Regions from separate parts of the Homo sapiens genome. Here all the other regions are linked to region 1. Evidence: promoter capture Hi-C in human tissues and cell types (Jung and others, 2019). All regions are on one chromosome and are shown on one strand. The core of a region is centred on a gene start or on the middle of the fragment in contact, and the rest is flanking DNA. Distances in the headings are between cores, read along the strand shown. Region 1 holds the start of ZNF24 (zinc finger protein 24). Region 2 overlaps DTNA (dystrobrevin alpha). Region 3 has its middle 79 kb from the start of MIR187. Region 4 overlaps DTNA (dystrobrevin alpha). Region 5 overlaps LOC105372061 (a long non-coding RNA gene). Region 6 has its middle 53 kb from the start of MAPRE2. Region 7 overlaps GALNT1 (polypeptide N-acetylgalactosaminyltransferase 1).

Region 1 (3,800 bases), core at 618-3,117:
TCAAACATTTTATATCATATTTTACTCTTATCTTTTCTATGTTTTGATACACAAATAGTTAGCATTGTGTTACAATTCTCTACAGTATTCAGTACAGCAACATGCCGTACCGGTTTGTAGCCTAGGCGCAATAGGCTATACCAGATAGCCTAAGTGTGTAGTAGGCTACGCCATTTAGGTTTGTGCAAGTACATTCTATGACGTTCACACAAGGATGAAATAGCCTAACATATTTCTCAGACCATAGCACTATCGTTGAGTTATGCATGACCTTATTTACTATATGGCCGCTTACAGAAAAAGTTTGCCAATCATGACCTACTAAGACGACAAACCCTATGTCAATAATCAAAAGAATCCAAGTAAGAACCAGACTACTTCAGTGCTTTCTAAATGTGCCTGACCCTGGAACGCATTATTTCCAATTCAGGATTGGTGTTTCCTGACACACACAAGTCAACTCAAAAGGAAGGTTCGCTTTATTATTATGTGCTTAAAAAAATTTTCTTTACCATTTAAAAAATATTTTTAAGGTGTTTAAGAACTCCTTGGACTTATATGTGAAAAAATGTTCACTTGCTGAGTAGCAGATCACATAATATTGAAAAGATCATATGTGAAAAACATCACATAATTTTGAAAAATTATCTTGCACATAATACGTAAATATTCAGTCTTCCACCACACCATACGTACATTTATATTTATAATGATAGGCATTAATCACAGAAACTTCTATTAAGAAAAGGCACTCGCATAAGCACCTTGACTTCCTGCAGTGGTCCAGTGTCTTGTCCTTACACTGGAGGACTCACAGTTTCCCCAGCTTCTACCTTCAGTGAAACTGTATACTGCTTCTGGACCTTTATTATTTGCACGATCATGCCCGTGCTGTTGTTTACGACACATACTAGCAATGAGCCATTCAGCCTATTTATTTATTCAGGGCCCAAAATCTGAACAATAACAACTTAAAAAAACTTATTGTAACCCAAGCAAGATGAAGACTAGAATCAGAAAAGGCCTTATCAGACAAGTAATACATACTGGTTTAATTAAATACCCTGGAGTGTGGTGGCCTTATACATAAGGTCTAGCCAACATTCATTCGTTCCTATTCCAAGACCCTGCTTATCAACGGTGCAAGTATTTCTACATAATTTTCTCTTCCTTTTATGCTGTAGAGCATACCGCTTGTGGGAAATGGAGGGAAGGCCCACGGTCCCGACAATGTTTGGGCAGGGTACCTCGTCCCAGGTGGATCGCCCACCTTACTGCTGCATAGACCTGCTGTGTATCCCGGCCCCGGCCCCGGCCCCGGCCCGACGTCCTCTAGCCCCTCTTCCCAGCACTCAGGACCGCGGATTTCAGATGACCAAAGGCCACCCTGTGACAACAGCGTCGGAACCACGGCACTTCCGCCTGCGGCCGGTGAGACTACAAATCCCAGAAGCCCCGCGCAAGTCTCGTCCCACTACCACCCCCTCCCATCACGACTCCCAGAACCCTCCGCGAGACGCCAGGGCCTCGAAATAGAACAAAACCGGCCGGTGGGGGAGGGGGAAGGTGAGGGTCTCGGAGGACACAGGGGGTTAGAGAGCTCTCTGCAAATGCCGAAGACCCAAGCAGGCCTGCCGCCTACCCCTCCCCGCCCCACAACTGCTAGGCGCGGAGACCGCGGCCTGTTCCCCGCGCCTCCCGGGAAGCTGAGGAAGGTCCCGGACAGGCTTCCCCGCCGGCTCCTGCTAAGAGGTCCGCAGACCCTAGCCCGGTGTCCCCCCTCCCTCTCATAACGTTCCCCGCACACCGGCGCAAACCTCCGGCTCAGGAACCGCAGCAGCTTCGCTGTCCACGGCAGACGCAGAAACGCCGTTCACAAGCCTTTTCCCAGAAGCCCCCGGCGCGGGCTGCTTCCGGTCTGCGGGCCTGAGGAGGCGGGGAGAGGTAAAGCCCACGTTGCCATGGAGAAGCGCCCCGGGCGGGGGAGGGGCGGCCCCACGACAATGACCGCATTGAGGCTGCGCTTGGCCTCGCGCCTCTCCTCGAACAGCCCAGCGTCCTCTGGACCGTTTAAAAGAAAACATAAAGAGGACTCTACCATTAAGATAGTCCTTACAATTTCGCAAGCCCTTTCACGTGCATTATCTTGTGGATCCTCTCAGTAATCCCCTGCAAGAAGGAATGAAAGTGAGTGTTTGTGAAAGCTTACTACATTGTGCCAGGCGCTCTCGTCGTGCTTTACATGTCATTTTTTTTTCCACAAATAAATGATGTAGGAACTTTCATTATCCCCATTTCACAGCTGAGATAGTTGAGGCACAAATACAGTAAATAACCTGACAAGAGCTCACAACTCATTTGTGGGTAGCAAGATTTGAAACCAAGACGTGATTCAAATCTTTGGCTCCCACTAGTTATGTCATGGAGCTTTATTCCGACCTATTTATCTGTCAGGAAAACTAGATAAGACAGGTTAAGAGTTTTGGCAGTGATGTCACGGTGAATTTGTAGAATGCATGGTCATCTTAAAGCTGGGCATTTTATACCATAAAACAACTGCTGACGCGATCATTTAAAATTACAAATCAGACCACTTCACTCCCCTATTTAAAGCCCTCCAATTTATGTCATAATAATTTATGACATAAAAACTCCTTATAATGGCCTGTAAGTCCCCTGTGGTCTGTTGCCTGCCCGCACCCCCAGACCCTGGCGCCCCCAGTCACCTCAGCTCCTCGGCTCATTGTGGCCCAAGATCCTCAGCCTCACCACCTGCCTTTCATGGCGCATGACCCTTCATGGCACTGTTATTAATGGAAGTGATCTCATTTATTTACTTGTTTTATTTTTTGTTTTGTTTTGTCTTTAAGTCCCTTAAGGGCAGGGACCTTGTCTGTCTTGCTCACCACAGTATCCCATCCTAGATCCTGGAAGCTGACTGCCTGGTAAATAGAGAACTCAATAAATATTTGTTGAATAAATAAATGAATTGTGGGATGGTTACATTGCTGCCTTTAGCTAGGTCACATGATTGGCATCAGACACCACACAAAGGAGCCCTGTTGTTTAAGGACTGGTCAAAAGTGTAGATCCAGCCTAACATAAGCATTTCAAGATCCTCAGGCTTTGACTTTTTGCCTCATTGGAGAAAATGCCCTCTGAAAAGTGCCGTCAGGCTCCGCTGGATTCGTGCATGAGAGAGCAAGTGAGCGAGCAGCTGATGGTATACCACTGCTTTTCATTCCGACCAGAGCTCTTCTCACAACCCCTGCTAACACTTCTCTCCATTGCAGGAAGCTTCAGAAGTACAGCCTTTTCACTCTGCTACTTGGATACGGCCCCTAAGCAACTTGGCTGCTCTTCCCAACCTTTCCCTCTTATCTGATTTGTAAAGGCTAGCTGAAGGCATTTTTGTTTTAAGAGTTTTTACATCTAATTAATGTTGGAAAACAAAAATAATAAATCTGAAACCTAACCTTGAGGAAGTTAAAAATGTTGCAAAATTTTACAAAACCCTTTTCCTGTGATTATATTGTTTGTTTTGTTTTTGAGACAGGGTCTTGCTCTGTCACCCAGGCTGTAGGGCAATGGTGCAGTCTTGGCTCACTGCAGCTTCAACCTCCCAGACTCAGTGATCCTCCCGCCTCAGCCTCCTAACTGGGCATTTTATACCATAAAACAGCTGTTGATGCAATCATTTAAAATTACAAATCAAACCACTTCATTCTCCTATTTAAAGGCCTCCATTTTATGCTGTAATAATTTATCTTGAAATGCTTATGGAAGGCTGGACTTACACT
Region 2 (3,800 bases), core at 608-3,107, 500 kb before region 1:
CCTTTTTCCACACATTATTTAATTTACTTCTCATAGTCCTAGAAGGTTGGATATGATTATTTCCATTTCACTGTTTAAAAAATATGAGCTTTGAGACATTAAGTGACTTATCCAAAGTCACATGCTAGTAAGGGCTTGCAAACAGGTCTTATGACACTGGTTCCCATCTATTTTCCACCCCATTCCTTGGCCTCTAGCTGTTCTCCATCAAAAGCTTTGTTTTTGCCATTATTCAGACCTAATCCTGATTAACTCTGTGTGGGGGTCTTCTACCCTATATTAACTACTTAACACACTGGGAAACTGACTTATTTGTAATAGTTTGCTGCTAAAGAAACACTTATGTCATTGCTGGTTCTGTCAGATAAGTCAAATAAATAAACTGCAGCTCAAGGGAGAATTTCTGCTTCCTTCCTAATTCAATGAAGTTTTAAAAGCCTTAATAATTTGTATGCACCTTCCTCATTGCAGGAGAAGGAGTCTGAAATGTGATACAGTGTGGGCTTTTACTACCCTCCCCCAAAGCTTGTCAAATTCCTGGGCTTGCTAGTTTATACCAAGGTCTGTAGTAGACCAACCAAATGATTTGAAACCAGCCCAGAACTTCTACCTCTAACATTGTCACTTGATTAGACTCCTGATGTCATATGACTAGGTTAAAATTGTTCTGCTTATATTTTTCTCAAGTACAAGAAAGTGTACATTTGTGTTGTCAATAGATTTCTTGTTAAGTGGATTAATAATCCATCTAGTTTAAAATTGCTCCACAATATTTTATGCTTTGGGAAAAAAGACATCTAAGAATGCCTATTTCAGAATTTCATTTATGAGGTCTAAATTTTTATTAGCTTGCATGCTTAGAACTCTTTAATAGATTCCTATTGGACCTAGTTTACAACCCAGACCCCTCACCATGGTGTACAAACCTGCATGTGACTTAGCCCTTGCCTACTCCTTTCTCAGCCTCAGATCTCATGGGGTTCTCCCATTCAATCACTACATTTAGTCATGTCAATTTTTGATCAATTCCTCCAACGAACCAAGCTCTTTCCTGCCTCAAGACTCCAATACTAGTTCTCCCCTCTGTCTAGAACATTCTTTCCCATTTCACCCCTACTATATGCACATGAACTTGCTTGTCTAGCTTCCAATCTTAGATTAAAGACACCTCCCCCAGTAGGTCCTCTATATTAGTCTCTATTATAGCATACTATTTTTATTTTCTTCTTATCAGCTGCAGTCATTGTTTGGTTGGTTAGTTGGTTAGCTGTTTGGCTGGTTAGCTCATTGGTTGGTTGGTTGGCTGACTGGTTAGTTGGTTGGTTGGTGGCTGGTTGGTTGGCTTACTATTTACTGTATCTTCAGTGGGGCAGGGACCCTCTCCAACTTGTTCACCACCTTATCTCTGACATCTAGCACAGTGCCAGGCACATAGTAGGTGCTCAATAAACATCTGTTGATATTGTAGAATATCAGTAGTGCAGTAGCTAAAAAAATTCCATCTTCCCCTAAACAAAGTTGTTAGGAGTAGTCAGAAACTTTACTAGCAAAATTAGAATTTTTACTATTTAAAAAAATCACTATTATAGAGTAGCACTTAAATTGAACATTTAGTATAGGAGTATAAAATAGATGAAAAATTAAAGTATTAAGCTTTGTGTAGTGGTAGACATGGGCAAAGATAAGCACCAGCAATTCACTGATGTGAACAGAGCAACTAATAGGGCATTCTAAAATTTTTTTAAAAACTTAAAGTGATAATTGGGCAAGAATTTTTTTTTAATTTTAATGCCCCCCTAGATTCTTCATCTTTGTATTAGTTTGCTAAGAATGCCAAAGCAAAATGCCATAGACTTGATGGCTTGAACAACAGAAATTTATTTTCTCACTGTTCTGGAGGCTGGAAGTCCAAGACTAAGGTGCCAGCAGGGTTGGTTTCTCCTGTCCTTGACTTGCAGATGGACACCTTCCTGCTGTGTCCGCAAATAACCTTTTTTCTCTACCCTAGTGTCTCTTCCTTTCCTTAAAAGAACAGCAGTCCTATGAGATTAGGGCCCCACACTATGACCTCATTTAACTGTAATTAAAGGCCCTATCTCCAAATATAGTCACATTCTAAGGTACTGAGGGTATTCATATGCTTTAGCATATGAATACTGGGGGAGACACAATTGAATCCATAACCCACTTCCCCACTGAATCCACTGAATTGTATGCCTTTAATATTTTTAATGTGTAGGTCAAGATTTGACTGACTCTTTTTAGTACATTTTGTTGATTTTGAAAAATGTGAGTTTATTGCAATCTGTTGAAAGAAAAAAGAAATTATAATCTGTTGAAAGAAAAAAGAAGAGTTACCTACACTTACTGACAGTGTCTCTTTTATATGAGTTTTCATTTCCTGTTAACACGACTCCTTTTGTTTAGTAAAATTTTTAGGAACTTCAATTATAGAACTGGACTTCTGAGAAAGATATTTCCTTAGAATCCTGGAAATATAAATCTAAAGACTGTCACATCAGGAACAGTTGGAGTAGAAGGAAATGGAGGAGTCTGAGAGTTTTTAGAAGATAGAATGCATGACCTCAACTGTAACATAGGGGGTTGTTGAAGTCAGGGTCTCAATAAAGGAGTTTAAAGGTCTCCTTTAAGGAAGCCATTATTGTGGTAAATTCTTATTGTTATCCATGAAGATTGCCATTTCATGATTTCCTGTCTTTTTTTGTTGTTATTCCAAACCACTCACAAAGGGCCACTACACTAAGCTTTGAGAGTTAGTTTCTTTCCCCATTCTTCAGTACTGTAAAACCATTTCTCGGTCCCCAGTGTCACTTTGTTCCTTTCTACCCTGACTCTCTTGAGCTCACTGACTTCTAAATGCCAAAAAAAAGTGCTCTATTCCCTTAGCATTTTGCTCTAAACCAACTGCCAAAGATAGAGAATAATCTAATAAAGCAATCTTCCATTTGAGTTAACTAATCCTCTTAATAGAAGAGTAGTACATGAAACTCGATGGCCTTCTAAATTAATTTCTAGTGATAAAATTCCCATCACTAGCCAGAGTAGTAGAAAAAATATGAAAAGAAAATATAGAAGCATTTATATATGCTTTTGCTTTTGCATTTATATATGCTATATGCTTTGGATCACAGTATTTTCTGGTTGACTACCCTAACTTAGAAAGCAGAACAGGCCCAGAAAAAAATCAAAAGAATGTGAACAAACCGTGAGTTCCCAAAAATCTTTGCTAAATCACACTTTCATAAGCCCTAGCTCAGCTGGGGCCACTTGAGTTTCCTGGAATGCCATTTTGAAATCACTGGCAACAGACACTGGCCATGCATTTCGGGTAGAATGTGGAGGGCTTTCAAAATAATGGATTTTCCTGCTCTGAAATGCCGTCAACACTGCAATCACTTGTTAATTCATCATAGTCTTGTAGCAAGATTACTGATTATAAAGTCCTGAAATGAATAGCTAGGGCTGGAGAAAGTGTTGGAATTGGTATTTATTTTAATGATTTAGGGATTGTTGATCATTCATTTTCAACTATTTGTAATTGAAGTCTTGAAATAGAGGAATTTATCAGAAGAATGCCTCCTTCACCCTTGTATAATTTGAACATACTGAAATGGCATTATGTGGACCCATAAATTGTTCATGTGCACAAAGGGGTAATATTATCACACAGGCCCTCATTCACTCAGTGCTGGGGGAGGAAAGGCATGGACGTATGAGTTATCACTTGCTATACAGAATCCTATATCTTCACGTCTTACATTTCCAGGAGGCTTTTTAAA
Region 3 (3,800 bases), core at 449-2,948, 480 kb after region 1:
ATGCATGGATAATACTTATTACTAAAATGAGATAGAGTTCAGTGAAAATTCTGTTCCTCTTGTTCATTTTCATCAATGTAAGTATGGAGTATCCTTAGTCACATAATAAGTAGATGGGAATGGGAGGAGATGTGTTATAGCTATTCATTCAATTCTTTGAACTCCTTCCAATTTTATGCCAAAAATCACAAAGAAATATATCATCAAATAATTTAAATGTAGAACTTTAAAAAATTTCCCTTGTCTGTAATATGCCAAGTATTAAAATATTTCTTCTCGATTGAATTAAAAATTATTCATATTATGTATTTTATTAAAATGATATGTCATTTTATGTATTATGACTTTTTAAAGCGGTTATTAAACATAGAAAAGTTAAGAAAGGCACTTCCAAAATGTTACTTTCAATAATTAGCTTTCAAAAAATTGATGCAGGCATTATGTCACAGGAAAATGGTTAAAGTGTTCACTTCAATTATTATACATATTCTGTATGACAAAGAAGTACATTGGGTGATGAATAAAGCTTAAGCATTTTATAATAGGATAAAATACTCAGGAAAATAGAATGGAATAGGGGTGCTGGAGACTGATGCTTGGAGCTAGAGACCAGGGTCTGGGAGCTGAGGAGTCTAGGGATTGGTGGCTGGGGACAGAGGAACCCAAGCTGGGGATTTGGGATCCTGACATATCCCTTCTCTACACCCAGCTTTCTTACCCCCAGCCTCCATTTCTTTTCAACATACCATTTCTCAAATGATCCTGAAAGAAGACATTGTTCTTTTTTGCCATTTTTCACATTTTTTTCAATGTGTTCATATTCCTCCATTATCCTTTTCAAATGCTGAGGGCTTTTGACTCTTACAAGAGCCCTGTTCCTCCCCAAATGTGACATTTTTATTTATTTATTTATTTATTTATTTTTTTGAGATAAGGTCTCACTCTGTCACCCAGGCTGAAGTGCAGTGGCACGATCACGGCTCACTGCAGCATCGACCTCCTGGGTTCAAGCAATCCTCCCACCTCAGCCTCACAAGTAGCTGGGATTATAGGTGTGCGACACTATGCCTGGCTATTCTTTTTATTTTTTATTTTTTGGTAGAGACAGGGTCTTTCTATGTTGCCCAAGCTGCCCAACTGTGATTTAAAACAGCTCCGCCTCTGCTGCCTAGGATATTTACACCTGCCTAGGACCAAAACCCAGAGACACGGGCATTATATTTTAAGAGTCTAGAGTGGCCAAGTGTGGGGGCTTACGCCTGTAATCCCAGCACTTTGGGAGGCTGAGGTGGGTGAATCACTTGAGGCCAGGAGTTCTAGACCAGCCTGGCCAACATGGCAAAACCCTGTCTCTACTAAAAATACAAAAATTAGCCCGGCTCAGTGGTACGTGCCTGTGGTCCCAGCTACTCGGGAGGCTGAGCCATGAGAATTGCTTGAATCCAGGAAGCAGAGGTTTCAGTGAGCCGAGATCACGCCACTGCACTCCAGCCTGGGTGACAGAGCAAGACTCAGTCTCAAAAAGAAAAAAAAAAGAGTCTAGGGTCATGTGACGTCTCTTCCAGACAGCTGAAGACAAGAGACCTAAACAGGGACCTAAGAGCACCCAAATATCCCACAGTCTAGGGTTTCCAAACAAATCTCTCAGAACCTCAAGGGGAAAGCTGAAGAGTCACCTCTCCTCTCAGAACCAGAATTACTTGCCTCCCTTTGAACAGTCTTAATGAAATGGAAATGTTAGGAGGCAGGAAAACAGAAATCAGCTCAAGGTTTCCTCCCATCATTTATTCCCTATGAAAATTCAGAACCAATTAGAGAACATTTTCTAATAATAAACTCACTGTCACCAGTGGTGTTAGCAAAACATAATCTGTCATTAAATTATTGTCCTTGAGTTTCGTTGATTTTATGGCTGAAATTTTATTTTGGTTTTCTATAGCCATGAGCATGTGTTTTATGTTGGCATTTGCTATAAAAAATAATTTAAATTCACACAGGGAGTCTGAAGGGGGTCTGTACCCTTGCTCAAAGTTGAAAAACACTGCCTTAATGTATTGTACTGTACAGACTTTGGAGAGCAGCAGTAATGAGAAAAGGAAAGCCAGGCCCCAGCTCAGACATGCTGTGTACTGCTGCCCCAGAGAGAGGAACTGGGAACCAGCACTGGTGACATTCACTCCAGGGGGCTGTGGGGTAGGTGTGGGAGGGTTGCTCCAGGAATGTACAAGGGGGTAACTGCACCATACCGTGCAGCACTCAGGACTCTCATCTGCTAGTGGCAGACATCTCAACTAAGACTGGCTCAGGCCCATAGGGAATATCCCTGCTTTGGGAGGGCCCCAAGCCAGCTGGAATCTCCAGGATAAGTTCAGGACCCTTCCTTCTTTTGCCCTGATGCCCTCTGCATTTAGTTCCATTTTGGCCAACATCAGGAGGGATTCCTCCACTGGGGAGTGGGGGCAAAGCTTCAATTTAACATCTTCCCATCTTGGCACCCACAACAGAAGTAACCTTATTTCTTCCATGGTCTGCATATTATCTGGCCAAGAGCATGTAGACCAGCTTAAATCCAGGAAATAGCCCAGACCTGAATCCTGTGCCTGTCCCATGGCCAATGAGAAGGGGCTGGTACTACAAAAAGGGGATGAAGGGGAAACTATGCTGACCAAGGCAATAGCCCCATCATTCACCACCCTAGTGTGCCTGCTGGACATGTTTCCATAAACCCCAGTCCCTCAGCAATACCAAATACTGGCAGGCAGAGTGGTACCCTGTGGAAGTATTAAAGAAAAAATTGTTTCTACATTTATTAAAATAAGGAAGAATTTATTCAAGACTATTACAATAAGATTATTTCAATAGAGATGAGAGATTGGGCTCAACTTTGAATACAGCAAGGACCAGCAGGTATTGATAGCTGTAGGAGACCAGAATATGACATCTCCAAATATGACTGCAGAGAACCAGAATATGTCACCCCAAGACAGGCCTTTTTGTCATAAGAATAATTTTAAGAAACTGCAGTCACAGGAGAAGCACTGAAAACAGAGTGGGAGTTACCCTTTTGTAAGGGAAATTTACATCTGTAAAGGAAATCTCCATTTGTAATGGTGCCCTCCTCTCTGTACCAGGAAAGAAGGATGACTAAGCCACTAGAGACTCTTACTGATGGAGAAAGCACTGACTTAAATTTGCATAACAAACCTTATCCTTGTTGACCAAGCTTTTTCTAGTCACCTTCCCATAATCCACCTCCCCCACACTCTTCTTGCTTTGTTTCAGCAGATAATGGTATTGAAGCCTGAATTTACAGGCAGCTCTCAGAGATTTATTCATTTCACTGGGCATGAAGCCAAGGGCAAACCTGACTAGGCTCTTCAGACTTTTACCTGCTTTTCTTGCTTTTAGCTGTTTTTTTGTTTGTTTTGGGTTTGTTTTGTTTTGTTTAAAGACTCCTTTCAGCCTCACTATAGATAACTTATCTGACTATGGGTCACAAAGGTAATGATTGCCTAAGTTGTTTTTCAGGAACTTAAAGTCAGCTCTTGTCCAGTTCAAACTGGTTGAAACCACCAACCCTTCAACTGGGCCTGTGTAAATGTCCAGTGGGTGACCTTTTGACATCAGAGACCTGAGAGCTCCAAACTCAGATCATGCTAACACTACCATTTTTCAAACATGCATCCTATGAAGAGCCATGAAGCTTGACTACGCTTATACAGAACACCGATTATCTCACTTTTCCTTATCCCCAATCACTTTTCCCCATGCCTCAGACCACTCTGCTCCTCTAACCCATA
Region 4 (3,800 bases), core at 710-3,209, 460 kb before region 1:
CTCAGTTTGAGGATCTTGTTCCCTCACCAACCTCTGAAAAGGCTTTTCTAGCGCAAATCCATGCCCGAAAACCTGGGTACATTCACAGTGGAGCTACCACAAGTACCATGCGTGGCGACATGTGAGTATCTTCCGCTTGGAAGCATTTTCTCAGTAACAAAACAATCTGTAGGAGACAATAAGAAAGTAAAAGCATAATTGTTTAGGGTTTTTTTAACCTTCAGAAGGGGTGACATAGTTTTCTGTTCTGCCAGAGATATAGAAGGGTGCTACATTTAAATTCGGCATTGTAATATTTCCCCTCTTACAATTTCCAGAGAGTTATCAATAACCTAAACCAACCAGTGCCTATCAAGAGCCTGCCTTGCCCAAGGCACATTGCTAGTGCTATACAAAATAGTATTAAAAAACTGCTGCCACCCTTTTAGGACTCACAGACTAGTTCAGGAGATAAATCATCCTATCTTCTGAACTTATTGTATTTGCACTTAGAGGATACCATGACATTGGAGAGGTCTCTGTCCAGAATTGGTGTAAACAACATCACATAAGTATTTGGAATTGAAATAAGTACATGTATAAAATCTCATTATAAAGAAATCCAGTTTGGTTGACTTGTTGAATTTGTATGAATCTGACCCTCCAAAGACTTATTTGCAAAAGTTTTCACCCAGTTCTGGAGCTTGTCAGAAACCAGCAGCATCAGTAACGTCCCCACTAGACTTTCTGTGACCCTGGATCAGCTCAAATTAGTCAACAGAGAAAACCAAAGCTGAGAAACAAAGGCAAAGCTGGGACAGAGCTGCAGAGCCCAACTTGGGAGAAAAAGGAGAAAAACAAAAGAAATGAAGAAAGTGGCCCATTAAATGACCATGGTTCATGGAGTTATGGGAAATGTGGGCAAAGGCTGACCCAAAAGCTGGGGGAGGGAGTTTCTGAATGCTAAAAATACTTCAGAAGGGTGATGTTGCTTAATATGAAAAGTACTTCAGACTAGTCTATAAAAATAAACTGGCCATTTTAAAGACTCAGAGAAGAAACTAAACAGAGGCCTTTCTGGTGTTTGGCTCTCCATCCAAGCAGTGAATAAACAATCAGTAATCATGGAGAATTATCAAGAGGTGTGGTCTGAGAGTCAGCTATGAAGCAGCAGAGAGTAGGATCAAAACAAAACCATTATCATGGGACTTAACATGGCAGTACGCTGCTGCTTAATATAGTTTGCTTTCTTGTCCTTTCTTCTGTATTCTAGAATTGTTGGATTTGTTATTCAAAATGGTGAATTAGTTGTCATCTGTTTTGTCTGGTAAATTCATATCTATTTGACTTTTTATTATTAAGCATTTATATGGCAGTTAGCTAGAATTTCCTTGTCCTAATTCTAAAATCCAAGACTATTGAGGCCACCCTAATCTGCTAGCCCTGGTATGCTGAGTAGCAGTACCAGCTACCAACATGTGACTCAGGAGTTAGGGAAGGAAAGTTAACAGAGTCCTGGGCAGACCCATTTAGCCTGGCCCCAAACCTCCAAAAATAACCAGAACATGTTGTACAGCTATAAATAAACGCAAACAACGACATTTAAGTTCCAACCTAGAAACTTCTTCTTGACCACTTATTTCATTTTAGGGAATAATTTAATATTTCTATTGTCTAAACATGTACTTGTGTTTTACCCTGAGACTCTTTTAGTCCTATGATTTAGGTAGTGAGTTTATGTCCAGCCCCATGAAAAGCTTTGCATAGTCTAGGATGAATAGATGGAGACAGAGTCCCACATTAGGGAATGAGGTCATTTTTATCTATTTATTTGATAGTGGAATTGGATAATTAAAATGCTTTTTTTTTTTTTTTTTTTTTTTTTCAGATTTAGAGCTAAGGTCAAGAGTTATGGGTTAGTAGCCCTCCTGGCATTGACTAGCTGATATTCTAAGACTTAATTCTATAAAAATAAGGCATGAATGTGGTATGCATGCATATGTGTATGTGCATGTATGTGCGTATGTGTAACACAAAAGAGGTTAAATTATAACCAAATGTCCTTAAGCATTATTTCACTAGAGGGCTCACTCTCCACACAGAAAGTGATCTTGGGTTCTATTTTAAACAAGAATAAAAAGAGCCCTCAGATTGGGAAAACTTTGTATCCCCTCAAAAGATGTTTGCCATTTTTTAAATTATAGAACATTTAAAGGGCCAACCCATTCCAGTAAACCCTAGGAAAAGATAAATGACCAATGATCGCAACTGCCATAAAAAAATTGTGTATGAAAATACCTTGATCATATATCGCTTCAAACCTCCAAAATGTTTCCAAGTTTTTTTTAGGTATTACTAAAGAAGACATGAAAGTGACTTGGAGAACTAAGGGGAAATAAAGGTGCCAACGAAACTACAGCTCACACATGAATCCCGCTTGTAATTCTCTTTTAAGATTTGCTCTAACATGTCATCTGTGGTTTATTTTCAGGGTTACGGAGGATGCAGATCCCTATGTGCAGCCTGAAGATGAAAACTATGAAAATGACTCTGTCCGGCAGCTGGAGAATGAGCTCCAGATGGAGGAATACCTGAAACAGAAGCTGCAAGATGAAGCTTATCAGGTACAGGGATCCAGGCCCACCCCACCCCACCTCTTCTGCCTCAACCCCTTGGTAGCTGGGTCTTTGACATGACTTGCAGAATCAGAGCCTTCTTCCTTCCACCCTCCCTTTTCAAAATACACTGATTTCACTCCTTAATCCGTGTCTTTTAGACAGTAAACATTTTAAATACTTCTTTTTTTTTTAAGACAGAATTTCACTCTGTTGCCTAGGCTGGAGTGCAGTGGTGTGATCTTGGCTCACTGCAACCTCCGTCTCCCTGATTTAAGTGATTCTCCTGCCTCAGCCTCCCGAGTAGCTGGGACTACGGGCATGCACCACCACGCCCAGTTAATTTTTGTATTTTTTAGTAGAGAAGGGGCTTCACCATATTGGCCAGGCCAGTCTTGAACTCCTGACCTCGCGATCCACCCACCTCAGCCTCCCAAAGTGCTAGGATTACAGGCGTGAGCCACTGCACCCACTCTTATAGCTGTCACTCACCATGTATTCTTTTAAATTCTGCCCTAGAAAGTGATAAACAGCCTTCTTATATTGGAAAAAAACAAGGTAACTAACAGTCCAGACTCTTTCAGGCCCATTAAGAAAGATGCTTTTTCTCATAATTATTTTTAAATGGATACAAAGAACAGGGCACGAGGAAATTGAATAAGCATAAACCCACCACTTCCCTTGAATTATTTGCCCTCAGTCTTCCTCATTGCCCACCTCATGCCAAGTGTAAGTAGGAGAATGGCAAAATTCCTGGAGAAATGTTGGGGGAACTGCAGGCCTGTGTTCATCAAGGTATGGACGGACAGATTTTCAGATGTACTGGAGTATGTTAGCCACCTGAAAATTCACTGAACATGACATATACAATTGGCAATAAATGTAACCAGCGACTCATCCTAAAGGCCATGCATTTCCCCATGGAGGTCGTTCTACTACCTTGTTTGTCTTCCTGGTATGTTCCTTTTCCCTTTAATTCACAGGCGTTTACTTGGGGTTCTGGTATTTCAGGGATGTTTGCCTGGTTGAACCTGGGCCTCAATGGTTATTTTATCCTGTCAGACTTTCTGTCCAGTGGCCAGACAAGTTTTCTGCACATTCTTTTGTTTTTCTTTTTTCCTTTTTTTTTTTCTTTTTGAGACAGGGTCTCATTCTGTTGCCCAGGCTGGAGTGCAGTTGCCCAATCATAGCTCACTGCAGCCTCTA
Region 5 (3,800 bases), core at 469-2,968, 410 kb before region 1:
AATGACTTCCTGCATGTCCTTGTATCTTTCTTTTTTTCTTTTGAGGCAGAGTCTCGCTCCGTCACCCAGGCTGGAGTGCAGTAGTGGCGCCGTCTGGGCTCACTGCAAGCTGCGCCTCCCAGGTCCACACCATTCTCCTGCCTCAGCCTCCCGAGTAGCTGGGACTACAGGTGCCCTCCACCACGCCTGGCTAATTGTTTTTTTGTATTTTTAGTAGAGACGGGGTTTCAACGTGTTAGCCAGGATGGTCTCGATCTCCTGACCTCGTGATCTGCCCGCCTTGGCCTCTCAAAGTGCTGGGATTACAGGCGTGAGCCACCGCACCCAGCATGTCCTTGTATCTTTTGCACTCACTTGCTTTAGCTATGTGAGAACTGTGTATAAGCACAGCTTATCCTGAATAGCAGTCCACAATTTGCTGATACAGTATAATGTTAATAGTTGTAACAACTGTCCACTATGATGTATGAAAAACTACTGAGAATTTCTTCAACATCTGGGTATTCACATGGAAATCTATCATATGTGTATATCATAGATATGGCGAGAGGGAATATTCCCGGTTCTCATTTTCTGCTACATTTAGTCTAAAGCAAATGTGATTTTTCCCTTGGCTATACCTCTGTGATATAACGTTTTCATATTCAGTAACTTAATAATTCATATCTAAAATGTCAAGTTAATAACTTAGTCTCTCTCCTCTACTGAAACTATTTTTAAAATAATTTAATTTCTGTCATTAATTGTACATCCCATTCACTTGCATGAAACTACTAACCCAAAGCCCTCTATTAATAATGCAAACATTCTGCATCTATTTCCAACAGCAAACAGAAAAATAGACAGCATTTCAGTTCAAATATATCAATTCAATGATTTTTTAAAAATCCCAAATGCCCATTCATGACTCTATGTTATGTCAATATAAAATTGAAACCACAGCAGCATCATGGAAATATACTGACATAAATAACACATTTCTTATGAAGTACAACACTCACTCTTATGCAAAAAAAGTTATAGGAATTCAAATGACTTATTTAGGGAAGAAAAAAAAAGCCCACAGTGGTATTCCTTAAACCAATAATACACTTTCAAATACATCTAATAGTATGCAAGATCCCTTAGCCAGCTCTGATAAGTGCCAAATGCAGTTTGACCATTTATTTAAAATACTGTTCTCCATATTTTTATAGCAACATTCTTCCAATTGACAGGTCAGAGAAAATGGCTAATATGCAATATATGACCACATAACTTACATGAATTTCTCTAATTAGTGCCAAACTGTTTTCAATGAGTCTGTGTGTGAAAAAAAGAAATATTTATGTAATTTTAAATTGTCCTAAAGCAAAAAAGACTCTAGTTGCAAGGAAGTATTATATGATAGTGTTTTAATAAAAGCCAATTGAATAATAAAAAGAACTCCCAACACATCTGAAATCACTTATATCTCCTATTCCATATACAAAAGACAGATAAATCAATGTAAAGTTTATTTTATTTGAAATACAAACCACTTCCAAGCAGAGTATTCATCCAGAATGAATATTTATAAAAATTCTCTATTCTTCAAAAAATATATGTGTTTATAATGTCAAACTTTGCCAGAATCCTTAACTTTAAGGCTTATTAGTTGAACATTTTCTCACAACTTTGCTTGGGAGAAAAAGATTGGCTTATAAAAAATGCTTGAGGGTTATTTATAACTATTTTAGAAAAGCTAGTTAATAAAGATATTAAGTAAAAAATTCACCTAAAATCCTTTCCATGTTACAAAACGTGTTCTTAAATCATCTTTGTGGAGTTTCTAAAATAGTTTGATAGATAGACAAATGTCTATTTTTATTTCTGCTTAGCGTGTTTATAAATTGATAACAATTTATTTTATTTTATGGCCATTCAAATTTTAAATATATTCTGATTATAATCAAAGTGGCAGAACATGTAATAGTTTAAAAGAATAAATAATAAATGCAATTTATAGAAATATTGACATTAAAATTTTGATGATGATTATGATAATTGTCACATAAAACTTTACACAGAAAAATTATAAGAGCACTCAGGCCAGCCACTGGTTTTGACAATGTAATACAAAAATAGAATAGAATAGATACTTTGATATTAATTCTGGTATGCAATTTTATGTGGTTTGTATCTCTGGGACTTTGTACCACCTAGAATCCCTCCCAGCCAGCTGTTTGTAGCCCAATTATCTCAGTCCGGTTATCTCGTTCATGAAACCTCCAGGACTGGGTCTGAGGCTTCCCAGCTGTTCCCACGTATCCCATGTCTATCCCACTGCAGCACTCACCACACTGAATCATAATTGTCTCTTCATTTGGGAGTATATACCCTTAGCTAAGATTCTTGATGGCTGAGGCTAGGTTTAATTTCTTATGTATTTCTGGCTTCTGTAATCTAGTAGATGTTCAATAAATAATTGCCAATTACTACTAAATGGATGTCTACAAATATACAACATAAGGACTAGCACTTGAAAAACACGTAAACAATTTATTTTAGTATCAAGAACATATACGTTTTGCCTGGAAATGATAGTTCTGCCACCACACATCCAATTTAGAAGCCTGGCCAAGGGCTTAGGGAAAACAATATTATTTTGTTAGTATTCTGCCTGTTTAAACAATCTATACAATAGATTCCATACAATCTGCTTATAAACCTCATTTTTCTATGTATCTTAACAAAAAAAAAGTCATAAATTATAATTGTGTTGCTTGTTCTTTCATTTTAAGTACCATTTCATTTCTTAGCCTTAGTACCTCTCAGTGACTATTCCAAAATGCTGACATCCTTTTTGGGTCCCTAATTAACCCCCCACATCATCTTTAGTAGATGCCCTTAACTCCTTAAATTTGGTCTTCAACTCTGCCATTCCCTTCCATCCCCTCAAATTTTCTTCTTCTGATTATTCCCTTATCTCTTTCCCTCAAGCCTAAAATGGAAAGGTACCTGCTTCTGGATCTTGGACCCCACATCCTTTTACAATTTCTGGTCTTCCTCCATCAGTTAGAATTATTAATGTTAATCTTACTGGTTCATATGCATTCTAGTCTGTATTTTTTGTTAGGTCTTTATTTTCCCTCTTAAAATATAGTCAATTCTCATTATTCATGAGAGTTGTGTTCTATAAAGCCACCATGAACACTGAATTAGTAAATCCTGAACCATTGTTCCTAGGGGAAATACAGAGTTAGGTCCCAGCAAGCTTCTAACCACAACATTTTCATCAACGGATCAATACATAACCTTGTTTTTCTGTTTCTGTTTAAAAACACCTTATTTAATATATATTGCTGATTCATGAGCATTGAGCTCACAGCCAGTAGTTCTGTAACTAATGCCTGAAGCAAAACTGACACATATATTTTCTCTGTAAAGCATATTAAAGCTTTCTTGCACTTAAGAACACCAAACAGCACTTTAGCACTATGCTTGGAGGCCACTTCACACAGCAAAATTATTAACAAAAAGCACAAAAGTGTAAAAAACATGACACTAAATAGACCACTAGAAGGACACTTGTTTACAGCATAAGAGCTGAAGCAAGAAGGCAGACATCACATTGCTCACTCAGCTGGGAACATGTGCATGTGATGGCTCCATTTTTTTTCCCACTCTGCACATGTCCATGAGTGACCAGAAAACACTGCAAGTATTAATCTGGGGTTATAAATAAATGTGAAAATATAGAATCTGAGAATAATGAAGATATTGTAATACATGCTTATGATAAAAAATATATATCGCTAAGGTTCCTACTTGAGTCTAGG
Region 6 (3,800 bases), core at 421-2,920, 360 kb before region 1:
TATCTTAGCTCTCCCACTGAGCAGCTTCAGCTCTCCATAAAGTGGAAAAAAAGAGAGACCTTACAAGAAAGACCTTGCTGGTTTTGCTCCACCTGGTTCTTCCCGGGAAAGACGCTATTGATATAAGTAAGGCTCTTCGGTAGTTTCACTTCCAGCTTGCCCTCTATTGTGATTTTTTTAAAAGTGTGGTCTCCTGGGCACAGATCCCCTAAAAGGAGCTTCCACAAATTAGCAGCAGTAATAACCAAGTGTGTGATGTAGTATTGGCAAATCCAGAAGCAATTCCCTCTACAGTTGAAATGTTTAGGCAACTCGGTCAGTGGGTCTGTTAATTCTCCATCCCAGCACCTGACCTTCAGCACTTCAAGATAAATTTGGAGGTATGCTTTTCTGTAGAGTTGCCAGGTAAAATGCAGGATAACCAGTTAAATTTGATTTTAGATAAGATTTGTTTTGGTGTATCTGAATTTGAATTAACTGAGCATTTCATTTTTCTGTTATTTGGTTTTTAATTTTTATTTTTGCTAAATTCAGCAATCCTACTTTTATGATACAATAGATTTCAAAATGACTAGCTTTCCTGGTCTGTAAAAGATCTGAGGTTATATTTATGAGATAATGAATTAAAAATGTCTTAGCTGCCTTCACTTACTCAAGGAAAAAAAGCCATTAACTGAAGTTTTTTTGCACAATTTACTAGATTGAGAGGAAATAAAAAGTAAAACAAGAACTAGAAAATTAGCAATGTTTTTAATTTTGTAAGATATTTTAAAGTACTTTCTATTCTTTCACCAATTTTTTAATAGAATAAATACTTCAATAGGTATATTGTTAGTTCAAGTAGGGCTAACATGAGAAATCCATCAACGATGTCAACAGTATGTTCCTAATCAAAGTGAGATTCCAAGTGATTGCAATGATGCCTTGCTACCTAGATGAGGCATCAGCATCACCTAGGAGTGTCTTAAAATGCAGAATTTGAGACTCCATTCCAGACTTCCCCAATCACAATCTTCACGTTAACAAATGAACACAGGTGAATCACATGCGTGTTGAAGTTTGAGAAGCCCTGAACTAGAGGATTCACTTTTTCCACACATTAAATTGGTATTTTTGTTTAATACCTTGTTGAATAATCCTTAATAAGCTGTCTCTTTTAACCCCCTAGAAGATAGATAAAATATCTTCCAGGTATGAAATCATTGTATTTCCATTTTATTCATATAAAATTCCTAAATGGCCATTTATAATATTATGAATCAATGTGAAAAAATATTATTTTTTGAGACAGGGTCTCTCTCTGTTGCCCAGGCTGGAGTGCAGTGGTACAATCACCATTCACTGCAGCCTCCACCTCCCAGGCTCAAGTGATCCTCCCACCTCAGCCTCTTGAGTATCTGGGACTATAGCTGCATGCTGCCATGCCCAGCTAATTTTTGTATTTTTTGTAGAGACGGGGTTTCACCATGTTGCCCAGGCTGGTCTCGAACTCCTGGGAACAAACAATCCACCCACCTCGGCCTCCCAAAGTGTTGGGATTACAGGCATGAGCCACCGCACCTGGCCTATAAGTCAACTTTTTCAAAGACCTCATGGAATAAATGAACAGGCTAATATATAATTCTGGATTTTCCTTGATTAACCTGTAAATTAGGTGGATCATAATTCCTGGCACTCAGATCACCAGCAAATCTCTTTTGTTTTTCATTTTATTATTGTAACTTACAGAACAGTATTTATATACCAATACCACATATTCATATACTTGTATCCCCAGATTCCTCTAAAACTGGACAAAAGGAGATCCAGTTGGGTCTATGGGAGATTCCAAACTATTCTTGTGAAATTTAAAGTTTTTAAAAGTAACAAAAAGAGTCCATAGATAATTCTTTTTGAGTTCTAAAACCTCACTTCTTTATGTCTGCTTTCCTGTCTTTTAGAAATTATAGTATTGTATCATAGAATGAATTCTGAAATTGGAGCAAGAATGCCAAGTAGCTTGAGTTTTAAAACTGGTTCTGCTGCTAACTGGGTGACTTTAGAGATGTTATTAACATCCTTCATCAACATCCTTCAAATTGAGTTTTTTCATCTGTCAAATAGAGAAAGCGAAGTCTGACAAGAGTTACAAGATCAGATAACATCTGTGTACATCTTTATGACTGTAGGACGTACAGTGATGTCCTAAGACTTGTTTAATGATCTGCTTCATATAGGGCTGCAGTTGACTATTATAGGATGTGGTTTCCTGCAACATGCCTGATTTTGAAGAAGGGTGATCTACACACTGGGAATGAAGCCACAGAGCATGTATGTTACATGTAGCTGCTGGCTATATATGTCCACGTCAGCCACACACTCCCTTCTGCTCCTCAGAACCTTAAAGTTCTCCTCATGGCTGGGGAACAGTGATGTGCTCCAGGGCTCCAAGCAATGGATTCCTCAGCAGACATTGCTCTGTGAAATCAAAAGGCAGGTTTTCTTTTCTTTTGTTTTTTTCTTCTAGAATTCTGTATAATCTTGCCTGCACTCTCTCTCAGGAAATGATTATTACCACATTATTACATAATTGTGATTAGTTATTAAGTAGCTTTTTATCTTATCCAATCATACAACCCCAAATTGGAAGAGCCTGCACAGTCATTTTCTTAAAACATCCCAGGGCAGAATTTCCACTACTAGCACACAAAGGAGAAATCTATTTATCCTTTTGTTGTTTTAATAAACATAAGTTCATTAGTGAGAGCCCAAACCAAAAAAGGAAGGAGGGGAGTGGGAGGAAGTACTCCTAATGTTAACCACCCTCATGCAACTATTACAAAAACTATTTTTATTATTGTGTAAAGTTCTTCTTGTCTGTATTTACATTCAACAATGTCTTACATAAAATGTTCCCTTAGCATTTGTAATGTTCCCTTTATCCAGCTTAATGTCTCTAGCTTTGGGGTCTTTGCCTGTGCCTTCTCTCGGTCTTCTATCCTGGATGTCCTAGTTGATTCAAGCTTGGACTTTGTCTTGTCTCAGGTTCTTGGTATGCAAAATGTGTGGTTCACCTGTGTGTGGTGGCTCATGCCTATAATGCCAGCATTTTGGGAGGCTCAGGCAAGAGGATTTATTGAGGTTAGAAGTTCAAGACCAGCCTGGGCAACATAGTGAGACCCTATGTTTACCAAAAAATTTTGAAAAAATTGCCAGGCATGGTGCCGTACTTATAGTTCCAGATGCTTGGAAGGCTGAGGCAGGAGGATCACTTGAACCTGGGTGTTCAAGGCAGCAGGGAGCTATGATCACGCTACTGCACTACAGCTTGGGAAGCAGAGTGAGACATTCCCTCTCTCTCTGTCTTTTTTTTTTTAAGTTGTGGTCCATTGACCAGTGGCATCAGCATCACCTGGGAGCATCTCATAAATGCAGAACCTCAGGGTCTTCTGCAGACATTCTCATTCAGAATCTGCACTTTAGGAGGATCCCCCGGTAATCTGTTGTTTGGCATTAATATTTGAGAAACATTGATATGGAAAGCCTTTCCTAACCTCCTAACCATGGTCTCCACCCATCTCAATGGGGTGAGTTAGGTGGCCCATATTTGGTTTGCTTTTCATCCCCCTTGCATGGCAATCCATTGAAGATTGCAATAAACTTTCATTCATTTCCACATCCCCAGATTCTAGCACAGTGCTTGACACAAGATTTTAACTTTGGGAATTGTTTCATTTTCCAATACAATGATTTGTAGATGAAGAATTGCAATGAGAATCTTCTTGTGCACTCAGAAAGGTTGCTCTCCACCATGGGACTAC
Region 7 (3,800 bases), core at 870-3,369, 350 kb after region 1:
TCAACAGTAGTTTGGGACACATCAAATTTGAGATCCAAGTGAAGATATGAATAGGTCTTTACATTTAAGAATATTCACTTTGGGGGAGAGGTTGTGATAGAGATGTTAACTTAGGTTGTCAGCATATAGGATGGTTTTTAAAGCCACAAAACTGTATGAGGTCACCTGAGGAGGAGAAAATGTTAAGTATGAGAGAGAAGACCGAGGACAATGCCAGAGGGAATGCCACAGTTTAGAAATCATGGAGATGAGAAGGAATCAGCAAAAAAGATTGAGAAGGAGTAGGCAGTGAAATAGGAGAACCTAGAGAGTGGTGTCGCCAAGACTAAGGGAAAGACGTGTTTCAGGAAAGAGGAAGTGATCAGCTGTATCGAATACTGCAGAGAAATTGAGGAAGATGAGTACTTAGAATTGGTTATTGCATTTGGCTAGGGACATGTTATCAGTAGCCTATCTCACAGTGTTGAGAGAGTTCCCCATGGATGTTGTTAAAAACTCTGTTTTGAAGAGAGAATGGAAGAAGCAACATAGATGAATGTGTACAAGTCTTGCAAGGAATTTTCTTGTAAAAGAGAGAAGATAAATAGGTGGTAGCTGGAGGAGAATATGGGCTTAAAGGGGTTTTTATTTCTTTATTAAGATAAAACTGTGCTGATATGAGCAACCCAAAAGAGAAAATTTAAAGATGCAAAAGAAAGAGCCAACTTAACACCCATTAGAATGGCCACTATCAAAAAAACAGAGAATGACACATGTTGGCAAGGATACTGAAAAATTGGAACCCTTGTGCATTGTTGGTGTGAATGTAAAATGGTACAACTGCTATTTAAAAATAGTATGGAGGTTTCTCAAAAAATGCTCAAAAAAGAGAACTACGATATTATCCAGCAATTCCACCTCAGGGTATGTATCCAAAGGAAATGAACGCAGGGTCTGAAGAGTTACTTTTACTTACATGTTTATAACAGCACTATTCACAATAGCCAAGAAGTAGAAGCACTCCACGTGTCCGTTCATTCTGGCCCAGCTAGCAATGCTTAGGCATTGTCCAAAATTGGGTCAGTTCAAAGTAAAAAACTCCTCCTTCTTGGTTCTAAAGACAAGCTACAGAGTGACTGCTATAAATCGTGATACAACGTACAATGGAATATTTTTCAGTCTTAAAAAGGAAGGAAATTCTGATACATGCTACAACATGGATGAACCTTGAGGACCTTATGTTAAGCATAATACGACAGTCACCAAAAGAGAAATGCTGTATGATTCTCCTTATATAAGGCAGCTAGAATAGTCAAACTCATAGAAACAGAAAGTAGAATGGTGGTTACCAGGGCTGAGGGAAGGGCCTAAAGAAGAGTTACTTCATGGGCATAGAGTTTCACATTTGCAAGATGAAAAAGTTCTGGAGATTTGTTTCACAACAGCCTGAATATACTTAACACTACTAAACTGTACACTTGAAAACAGTTTAGATGGTAAATTTTATGTTATGTGTTTCTGCACCAGAATAAAAAGAAAGAAGGGATCTGTTGTTATGGGTGTCATGTATTTGGGTGGATAGGAGGTGAAATCTGTACACAAGTAGAGGGTGTTGGGTGGGGGTGGGAAGAAGAGAGGTCATCTCTTATCATGGGGAGGAAGGTAGAGGAATGGGAACAAGTGCAGGGCAGCTGTAGGTTTGGAGGTGGAAACTGGCAGTTTGTGGTGGAAGTGTGAGGACCTTCTCTTCTGGTGGCTTGTTTCCTCAGTTGAACACAAGATTATGGGCTGAGAGTGAAGAAGGTGTTGGTGAGGGGGAATTGGGGAAAGAGAAAAGGATGTAAAATAGAAATGTAAGATAAGGGAAAGCAAGTAGATCACTGAAGGAAGCCAGATGGTGGAGAGTTGGTGAAGCCATCTGGCCTGGTGTTTTCTTCAGTGCCAGGGCAGGCACAGACTTACGCATTTATCCTAACAGTTACTAAGGCTACTTCAGGATTGACTTGAGCTCCCTACCTCTGAACCTTGTTGTGATTTAAGGAATTTGTTTTCAAACAAGTGAGGGCTACATTGAGTTTCTTGAGCCTTTCATTCTCACTGATGCCTCATTAATGGGAATGTGTTTTCCTTTGCTGTGACCTCGTACTGGTCAAAGAAGGCCCAGGGTGAGTGGTGCGCCAGGGAAAGATTTCTAGCAGTCACTCTGCAGCTTGTCTTTAGAACCAAAAATGAGGAGTTTTTTGTTTTTGTTTTGTTTTTTTTGAGCTGACCCAATTTTGGACAATGCCTAGGCATTGTTAGCTGGGCCAGAGTTCGGGCGTGTGACAAAGAAACACTTGTCTGCTCCATGGTAGATGACTGCCAAGGCAAGCTTGCGTCTTACCTGCCTCTTGCCAGCTGGCTTCTGGGCAAGTCGCAGCGTTTACCCTCTGTGGCCTGCTTGTTATCGCCTTATTAACTTAACAGCTGGCCTTAAGCCTTGTACGCCCTTAATACCAGGCCACATCCTACAGGTTAAAAGTGTCATTTCTAGATTGGAGGTCATTCTTAAGAGTACCCACCATAGTGCAGCCCAGGGATCTTATGCTTCTGATCACAGCTTCACCCATGTGAGCCTTCCTTTGCTAGCAACAGTAATTTAGCCTTTCATAGATCTCTTCTCATGCTTCAAGGGTCCAGGGAAACCTGAAATCATAGGATTTTTCAGCAGAAAGGGAAATCAGAAAATGTAAATATGACTAGGGTAATAGATATAATTTAGGGCATCTGGCTTCAGCTAACGCTGACGTTCGTAGTTCCTGTAGGACCTGAACAAATGTGTTTCATTGTGGTATCTGATAGTTGTTAACTCAGGAGCTGAGTATTCTAAACAACAAAAAGTAAACAATCTAGACCTTTACTGGTTTAGTCAGTTTTAGGGGCTGACCAATTGCTTTTCCAGGCAGATCTAATAATCCTAACATTTACTGAGCATGTACTTTATGTCAAGCACAAATCTGAATGCTTGATGAATATTAAAGCACAACACTATAGGATTGTGCTGTTATTTCCACTTCACAGATAAGTAAACTGAGACACAAATAAATGGTTTAAAAAACACGGCTAAACTCACAACCATCTGGTTTGAGAGCCTGTGCTGTTAACCCCTAATGTCCGTATTCTTTCTCAAATCTAACCAGTATTTCCCTTGCAGCAGAGAGTAGAAAAGTGAATCCAGATTCACTAATGCTAGATTATAAAAATGGTTTAACAAAGCTCTTACATTGTCCACCCTAATGGAGATACTGATTCTGGAGGAGACTAATAGTAGAAACAAAGAAACTTAAGCTCTAACCTCTTGCCTGGTTTTCCAAGAATGGGTGCATTCACAATTATTTTCAATTCCTAATGTCAAAAATAGTAGTTTTAAAGTGGCAGTCAGGTACAGCTAAGTTGCTACTTCCAAAGGGGGGTTGAAGAGTTGCTGGGTCTGTGGATAAAGGAAAGAAAACCAACGGTTACTGTGTGCCTGCTATGTATCTGTCCCTGCTAGAGCCTCTGTATGTATTATCTCATTTAGAGCACTTAACAAACCTGAGAGAGAGAGAGATTTATCCCTGCTTTACCAATGAGAAAGGGTTCTTATAGCAGTGTTTTTAATTCTGTGTTGTAAATAATATTGATATCTGATGTCCCCAAGGTGCTCAATTAGAAAGGCGAAGTGCTGGGGAGAAGGAGGTAGATTTTGAGGTCAAATATGTTTGGGCAATACTATTTTACATCTTACATCCATCTGTACCACCATTCCCCGGTCCTACCAATAGTCATGATATATTAAAAGG

Evidence for each region. The method cuts DNA at HindIII sites, captures the fragments that hold promoters and counts their contacts. A contact is called where the count stands out against the background at its distance.
Region 2: a contact is called between a fragment that was not itself captured here and the fragment with the promoter of ZNF24 in region 1, in 3 of the 25 tissues and cell types used here (dorsolateral prefrontal cortex, hippocampus and mesenchymal stem cells).
Region 3: a fragment that was not itself captured here is called in contact with the fragment with the promoter of ZNF24 in region 1 in 2 of the 25 tissues and cell types used here (lymphoblastoid cells and spleen).
Region 4: a fragment that was not itself captured here is called in contact with the fragment with the promoter of ZNF24 in region 1 in 3 of the 25 tissues and cell types used here (dorsolateral prefrontal cortex, hippocampus and mesenchymal stem cells).
Region 5: a contact is called between a fragment that was not itself captured here and the fragment with the promoter of ZNF24 in region 1, in 1 of the 25 tissues and cell types used here (hippocampus).
Region 6: a contact is called between a fragment that was not itself captured here and the fragment with the promoter of ZNF24 in region 1, in 2 of the 25 tissues and cell types used here (dorsolateral prefrontal cortex and lymphoblastoid cells).
Region 7: a contact is called between a fragment that was not itself captured here and the fragment with the promoter of ZNF24 in region 1, in 2 of the 25 tissues and cell types used here (hippocampus and mesendoderm cells).

What each region holds. Positions count from the first base shown.
Region 1 is chr18:35,342,553-35,346,352 of GRCh38, forward strand. ZNF24 (zinc finger protein 24) reads right to left here and starts at 1,868. Exons shown (of 4, transcript NM_006965.4): 1 at 1,808-1,868. LOC124904283 (a long non-coding RNA gene) reads left to right here and starts at 1,502. Exons shown (of 2, transcript XR_007066337.1): 1 at 1,502-2,187. RefSeq lists an enhancer at 1,186-1,245 and a silencer at 1,926-2,095. The HindIII fragment of the contact is 10,533 bases long and covers 934-3,800 here.
Region 2 is chr18:34,841,582-34,845,381 of GRCh38, forward strand. The region is part of intron 13 of DTNA (dystrobrevin alpha); the gene reads left to right. Among named protein-coding and RNA genes, the nearest start is that of DTNA-AS1, 76 kb to the left of the region's middle. The HindIII fragment of the contact is 3,608 bases long and covers 54-3,661 here.
Region 3 is chr18:35,824,512-35,828,311 of GRCh38, forward strand. No RefSeq gene overlaps it. Among named protein-coding and RNA genes, the nearest start is that of MIR187, 79 kb to the right of the region's middle. RefSeq lists an enhancer at 3,516-3,800. The HindIII fragment of the contact is 3,530 bases long and covers 1-3,463 here.
Region 4 is chr18:34,879,599-34,883,398 of GRCh38, forward strand. It overlaps DTNA (dystrobrevin alpha), which reads left to right. Exons shown (of 23, transcript NM_001386795.1): 20 at 1-121; 21 at 2,471-2,603. Among named protein-coding and RNA genes, the nearest start is that of DTNA-AS1, 110 kb to the left of the region's middle. The HindIII fragment of the contact is 4,098 bases long and covers 1-3,800 here.
Region 5 is chr18:34,934,699-34,938,498 of GRCh38, forward strand. The region is part of intron 1 of LOC105372061 (a long non-coding RNA gene); the gene reads right to left. Among named protein-coding and RNA genes, the nearest start is that of MAPRE2, 100 kb to the right of the region's middle. The HindIII fragment of the contact is 3,215 bases long and covers 112-3,326 here.
Region 6 is chr18:34,986,377-34,990,176 of GRCh38, forward strand. It overlaps a transcript of MAPRE2 not described here. Among named protein-coding and RNA genes, the nearest start is that of MAPRE2, 53 kb to the right of the region's middle. The HindIII fragment of the contact is 7,504 bases long and covers 1-3,800 here.
Region 7 is chr18:35,693,676-35,697,475 of GRCh38, forward strand. The region is part of intron 9 of GALNT1 (polypeptide N-acetylgalactosaminyltransferase 1); the gene reads left to right. It overlaps LOC105372064 (a long non-coding RNA gene), which reads right to left. Exons shown (of 5, transcript XR_935377.3): 3 at 3,314-3,448; 4 at 2,541-2,664. Among named protein-coding and RNA genes, the nearest start is that of MIR3975, 100 kb to the left of the region's middle. The HindIII fragment of the contact is 6,903 bases long and covers 1-3,800 here.